Regions from separate parts of the Homo sapiens genome. Here region 1 is linked to region 2. The links are contacts of gene promoters, found by promoter capture Hi-C in blood cells and fetal thymus (Javierre and others, 2016). All regions are on one chromosome and are shown on one strand. The core of a region is centred on a gene start or on the middle of the fragment in contact, and the rest is flanking DNA. Distances in the headings are between cores, read along the strand shown. Region 1 overlaps PNPLA8 (patatin like domain 8, phospholipase A2). Region 2 holds the start of LMTK2 (lemur tyrosine kinase 2).

Region 1 (3,401 bases), core at 625-3,124, about 10 Mb before region 2:
AAGATTTTGCTGTCCTTGTTTATTCTTGGTACAGTTCTCTTTTCGACTCTTTATTTTCCTTCTGTTTCATCTTTGAACATTTTAGACCTACTTAATTTTTTTCTATTTCTAAATCTTAGTTACACATTTTTTTTTCTGGCTATATTTGCTGATCCTCTCTGCAGGTGATGGTGCATTTCTTTGCATGTTTTGTAACTTCAGTGAGTTCATTTTCCATAGTGGTTGCTTGGTGTAGGATCCCATTGCCCATAGGGTATCTGCACCTTGAGGATAGTATGACTGCTGTTCCAGGCCTGTGGGTCCTCTTAAACCTGGAGATTTTTTACTGTTGACTTTGAGCATGGCTTTATTATTTTATAAAATTATTTTTTATTTTTTAAATTGCCAGATAAAGGTGTATGTATTTATGGTGTGCAACATGATGTTTTTAAGTATTATTTTCATTGTGGACTAACTAAATCTAACATATGCATTACCTCACACAGTTATTTTTCTGGTTTCATTTTACAGTCTCAGTATTCTTCAAGTTGAGCATGAATTTTTTTTTAAATGATATATAATATTTGTATATATTTATAGGGTAGATGTGATATTTTGATACATGCATACAATGTGTAATGATCAAATCGGTATTTAGAATATGCATCACCTTGAACATTTATTTTTTCTTGGGAATATTTCAAATCTTCTAGCTATTTTGAAATAACACAATATGTCATTGTTAACTATAGTCCCCCTACTGTACTATTCAAATACTATAACTCATTACTTCTAACTGTATGTTCGTACCCATTAACCAACCTCTCTTATCCCCTCCTTTCCAGCCCCCAACTCTCCCTCACACACTGTTCCTAGCCTCTGGTATCTATCGTTCTACTCTCTATCTCCATGAGATCCAATTTTTTTTAGCTCCTACATATAAGTGAAAACAGAGCATGGCTTTTTATCCACAAGTATTTTATATTAAGTGTTTTTGTGTCATTGGGGCTGCAGAGCTTTTATGTTAACTTGGCTTATCTTATTGACTGTAAGTCCCAAGGAGTTCAGAAGAGCCTTGTAGGGATCGAGGGAAAATTTCCCCTTCCACCTCTGCCGGTTTGCTGAAAATCAGCTGACAGAAACAGATTAGTAAGAGAAATGGCATACAAATTTATTAATGTGCACAGGTGAGAATCACAATGATTACTTAAATATCCCAGTGGGGCCCACATACTTATATAGCTATTTTCAGAGGGGAAGGAAAGATGGTGAATGGAGGTAATTCTCTCGAGCGGCAATAACTGATTACTAGGGAGAAGGAATGGACGGAGAGTTGGAAGGACAGAGACGAACTTGTATTCTCTTTGAAAACTGAATGAGCCTAAGAGACAGACTTTATCTTGTGAAAGTGTCCTTTGGGTGTGGTTACATTCTTCAGTCTTCTTTTCTGCAGCAAATAATAAAATTGTTTTCCCTTCTCCCTGAGGAGGAGAAGGGAAAACAATTGTTCCCCTTGGGGAATCTGTCTGGTCTTTTTGTAGATAGGGAAAAAGTCTCTTCTAGCATCTGTTGATCTCTGATGGGGCTTTAATTCAAAATACTTATACCAGGGAGCCATATTTTGTGGTAGAATTCCCTGGGCTCCTTCAGCCTGGAAGACAAGGCAGGCTTTGCTTTTTTTCTCTCTCTTCCTTTAGATAATTCTAAATGGCACATGCAATTTAGAAGGAAGGATTTTACTTCAGGCTGTTATCTTCTGGACAATTGGAATAGGTTCTCAGTTCCATCTTTCTTGGCATCATCTACCTCTCTCTCAATCTCTCTAGGTCCTGCAGTAAAACTAGACTACATGTAATCTCTGCACATACTATCTGTGCTTTCTTACATGCTTTCTTCTGTTTGCCTCTGTGTGTGTAGTTTTGTTGTTTGTTTTAGAGATGGGGTCTCTGTGGCTCACTGCAGCCTCAGATTCCTAGGCTCAAGTAATCCTCCCACCTCAGCCTCCTGAGTAGCTAGGACTACAGGCATGTGCCACCATGCCCAGCTAATTTGTTTTATTTATTTTTTTTTAAGAGACAAGGTTTCACCATTTATCTGGGCTGGTCTCAAACTCTTGGCTGTGTTTGTTTTGTTTACCGTTATTTAGAATTCTCTCCTTTCCTTCTCATCTTTACACGTGATGAATTCTCTTTTAAATTTGGCCAGTTTTTAACCTCTTTTTTTTTTTTTTAAACTTCCCTCGATTTTATCTCACTTTGTCTTTCATTCACATGGTACCTTCTGTTACAGTCCTTTAAATATTTTGCTTTTTCTAATTACAAAATAAAACCTCATTATAAATAATTCAGACACTAGAAAAGTAAAAAGTAAAAACCGTTCTCATTCCCTTTTGGTCCCATGCCTTAGTTCATAAGAATAAACAAACAGGTGCTTATCCTTTCAGAATCAATATGTGTATGTATATGTGTGTCCATAAGATTTCAACTGCATATGTAGATTTTCATTTTTTAATTTCTTAATATATGTGTGTGTGTGTGTGTATATATATATATATATATATATATATATATATATATATTCATGTGCATATAGCTTATATAGAACTGCAGATTGCTTTTTTTTAAAGACTTTTTTAAGAATAGTTTTTAGGTTCACAGGAAAATTGAGAGGAAGGTACAGACGTTTCCATATACCCCCTACCCTGACACACGCATAGCCACCTCCATTATCGGCATCACCCACCAGAGTGGTACAGTTATTATAATTGATGAGCCTGCATTCACACGCAGTCCCCCAAGTTCATAGTGTACATTTGGGTTCATTCCTGGTAGTGTACATTCTGTGGGTCTGAACAAATGTATAATTATATTTATCCATCATTATGATACTATACAGAGGATTTTTAGGGCAGTAAAAATACTGTCCTCTGTCCCCTACCTATTTATTCCTTCTACACACTGCTTTTGGCAACAGCTGATCTTTTTACTGTCTTCATAGTTTTGCCTTTCTAGAGTGTTATACAGCTGGAATCATACTGCTATGGTCCGAATGTTTGTGCCTCTCAAAATTCATGTGGAAATCATAACCGCTAAAGTGATGGTATTAAGAGGTAGGTCTTTGGGAGGTGATTAGGTCAGGAGGGTGTAGCCCTTAGGAATGAGATTAGTGCCCTTCTAAAAGACAACCCATAGAGCTAGTTAGTACCTTCTACCATGTGAGGACACGGTAAGAAGACAGCCATCTGTGAACCAGTAAGTGGGCCTTCAGCAGATACCAAATCTGTTAATACTGATCTTGGACTTCCCAGTCTCCAGAACTGTGAGAAATTTTGTGTGAAATAAATTTCTACTGTTTATAAGCTACCTAAGCCAGGCATGTGTACCTGTAGTCCCAGCTACTTGGGAGGCTGAGGCAGGTGGATT
Region 2 (3,126 bases), core at 283-2,782:
TTTACTGGAGACAGTACATCCACATTCTGTACCCAATTAACATTATTCCAAAATAACTCTTGACCTCGAGAGTATTCCAAAACAGTTACAAGACTTAAAAAAAATCATACAACTAGGGGTATCTAAGACCTGGCTTTGGGGCTCTGCCTACAACGAAGCTGTGTCACCCTGGGTAGGTCATTTGACCCAACATGCCCAGTATCTCCTACTACGTAAAGAAGAAATTGGTCTAAATTTTCTTTAAGGTCTCTTCTAACTCTAACATTCTATGAATGTATGAAATTTCAATCTTTCCCCATTTCAAAGGTAATGGCGGCAGTCAATAACGCCAAGTTAGCCTAGATTTTTTTTTCCTTTTTAGAAAAATGACCCAACTTGGGATGTTTTCTTGGGTTGAAGTTTTATTTAGGAAAATAAACCCCAAATAAAAACGATGTTGAGAAAATGGGCGGGGGGGGAGAAAAGAAAATCATACACTGACGTTAGCTAAAATAGAAACTTCCATCACCCTTAAGCCAGTTTGTCAATAGTTATTCAACGCCTGCTACTCTAATCACTGGCTTCCTAAAATAGAAATATTTATAGTTGTTTCCTTCTCATCCCCGGAGATACATTCCGAATAAAAAGCACAGCGTCTAAAATCAATTTACAACTTCAGAATAAGTTGCAAGGAGCGAAAACAAACTCCGCACAGCTCGCCAAGTCATTTGCATTTAAGTATGATTAGGGCTAAGAAACGGTTCTTATGAGATGCGAAAAAAAAGCACAAGAGGCAGGTGACATCTGGAAAGGGAAGCTGAACTGCCAGGAAGCGATATAAGCTGAGGATCTTAAGGCAACAGGTCCAGGGCCGGCACCGCAGCCTATCCCGGGAGGGGTCGGTGGCTGCTACCTCGCCCGCCGCCCTCCCCAGCCCCAACGACGTCGCCTCGCTCCCGCCCCCCCAAATCCCACGCCCCTGCGGCAGAAATCTCCCTAATCACTCGCCTCCCTGGGCTTCCCGCCCCCGGCAGGCCCTCCGATTCCTCGGCGCCGAGGCCGGCCCGGCCCTGCCGCCCCCTCCCCTCCACGCCGAAGACCCCGCAGCCCCGTCCCCGCCGCGGGCCCGCTCACCTGCACCTGTTTGCGGAAGTGGCGCGGCCCCAGCACTGCCGGCGATCAGGAGGACCAGCAGCAGCAGCAGCAGCCTCCGCCGCAACGCCGGCGGCCCCGGCATCTCGCCCACGGCGCGGCTCCGGGGCCGGCCCTCGAGTCGCCTTCCGTCCGTCCGTCCGTTCGCCCGTCAGTCGATCCTGCCTCCCTCCGCTGCCTCAGTGGCACCCGCGCCGGTTGCTCCCGAGCACACGTTGCTTCTGCCAAACCTCGGTCCGGCTCCCGGTCCGCACCTGCCGCTCCAGTCGCAGAAACACCATCCTTCCCGCCCGCCTGCGCCGCCGCCGCCGCCTCTCAACAGCAGCAACGCCAGCAGCCCTGCGGAGCGGCGGGCCTGGGAAGCCGCGCTCCCGCCGCCATGATGGGCTGCGTCATGTGACGTAGCGCGGGGGCGGGATGTCGTGATGGACAGGGCGGCCAGCCACTCGTCAGTCCACACCGGCCCAGGAGGCCCCGCCCATCATCCTGAAGGAGTGAGCGGTGGCGGCCGGTGCGCCCCCTGCAGACGGAGGAGTGCGTGGGCAGCAGGTAACACCAACAATTATTTTAAATTGAAAAATACAGGAAAATGTAAAGAAGACCATGACAATCATCCTGATATTTTTTTCTCGGTGTTTTATAACATGCAAAAATAGGCCTGTCTTGTCTTCTGCCTTTTTTTTTTTTTTACTTGTCAGAGCTGTTTTAGGCTCTTCTCCTTAAGTTGACCTACACATCCTCTCAGCCATCAAACAGCTTTGGGCTTTTCACTTGAATTGATCAAGAGAATGCCTCTCTCGGCATCACCCACTGACTCACCTCCTGAGCTCAAGCTGTTGCCTCTTGTCCACCTGGCAGACACTCTTCCTTTCATCTGTCGAGACTCACCTGACATATGACTTCATCTATGACTCTCTAGGAGAAATGACTGTCATCTCCTTAGTGCCCCGCCCTGGCCCTGTGTGGACTGCTATCCTAGCTGCAGTATCCTATTGACCCGTGACTGTAAGCTCCCTGAGGACAGCAACTGTGTCTGATTCAGCTGGTGGGAAATCCCTGGTGCAGGACCTGGGTCGGAGCAGGTGTTCTCTAAAGCAATGGTGCATGGCCCTGGTCCCAGGTACCAGGGCAGAGCAGCTCCCAGGGGTGGCCTTCTCCCCACCAAGAGGTGAGGTGAGAACACAGTCCTGCAGAGAGGATAGAGAAAGCACTCTCCAGACACAAGTAATATAGTGGTCAGAGGCATGGGGGTTGGGAAAATGCTAAGCTTTTCTGGAGAGGCGCTATGGTTCAGTGTGTGCATGAGAGGAGCTGATTTCAATCTTATCAGATGAGACTTTGCCACCTGGCAACAGTGTAACCTCCCCAATTCTCCAAACTCCCCAAATGTCCATCCTAAATGCCAGCTGTCGATGATGTTAACACAGCACTGGACACACAGATGATGCCCAGGGAATATTTGTTGGATGATTGAGGCAAGCCAATAAATATCTAAGGAGACAAATACCTGGAACGAGAAACATTGAATTTAAAAGTCCATGGCTTGGCTGGGCACGGTGGCTCACACCTGTAATCTCAGCACTTTGGGAGGCCAAGGTGGGTGAATCACTTCAGACCAGGAGTTCAAGACCAGCCTGGCCAACATGGTCATACCCCATCTCTACTAAAAATACAAAAAGTATTAGCCAGACACGGTGACGCATGCCTGTAATCCCAGCTGCTTGGGAGGCTGAGGCAGGAAAATTGCTCGAACCCAGGAGGCGGAGGTTGCGGTGAGCTGAGATCACACCGCTGCACTCCAGCCTGGGCGACACAGCGAGACTCTGTCTTAAAAAAAAAAAAGTTCACGGCTTTCTGCTGATTATATGCAGAATTGGTAAGGAAGGCAAAGGTCTAGGAAAGAGACACAATCACCCTGTTGTACTTCTACTTCTTTTTTTTTTTTCTTTGAGACAGAGTCTGTCTCTGTCACCAGGCTAGAATGCAGTGGTGCGA

What was found. The method cuts DNA at HindIII sites, captures the fragments that hold promoters and counts their contacts. A CHiCAGO score of 5 or more calls a contact.
Region 1: a fragment that was not itself captured here is called in contact with the fragment with the promoter of LMTK2 in region 2 in 1 of 17 cell types (neutrophils); the score reaches 5.5 in neutrophils.

What each region holds. Positions count from the first base shown.
Region 1 is chr7:108,517,877-108,521,277 of GRCh38, reverse strand. All of the region lies in intron 2 of PNPLA8 (patatin like domain 8, phospholipase A2), which reads left to right. Among named protein-coding and RNA genes, the nearest start is that of PNPLA8, 6.6 kb to the left of the region's middle. The HindIII fragment of the contact is 9,624 bases long and covers 1-3,401 here.
Region 2 is chr7:98,105,268-98,108,393 of GRCh38, reverse strand. It overlaps LMTK2 (lemur tyrosine kinase 2), which reads right to left and starts at 1,532. Exons shown (of 14, transcript NM_014916.4): 1 at 1,114-1,532. The coding sequence starts at 1,216. The HindIII fragment of the contact is 4,003 bases long and covers 1-2,400 here.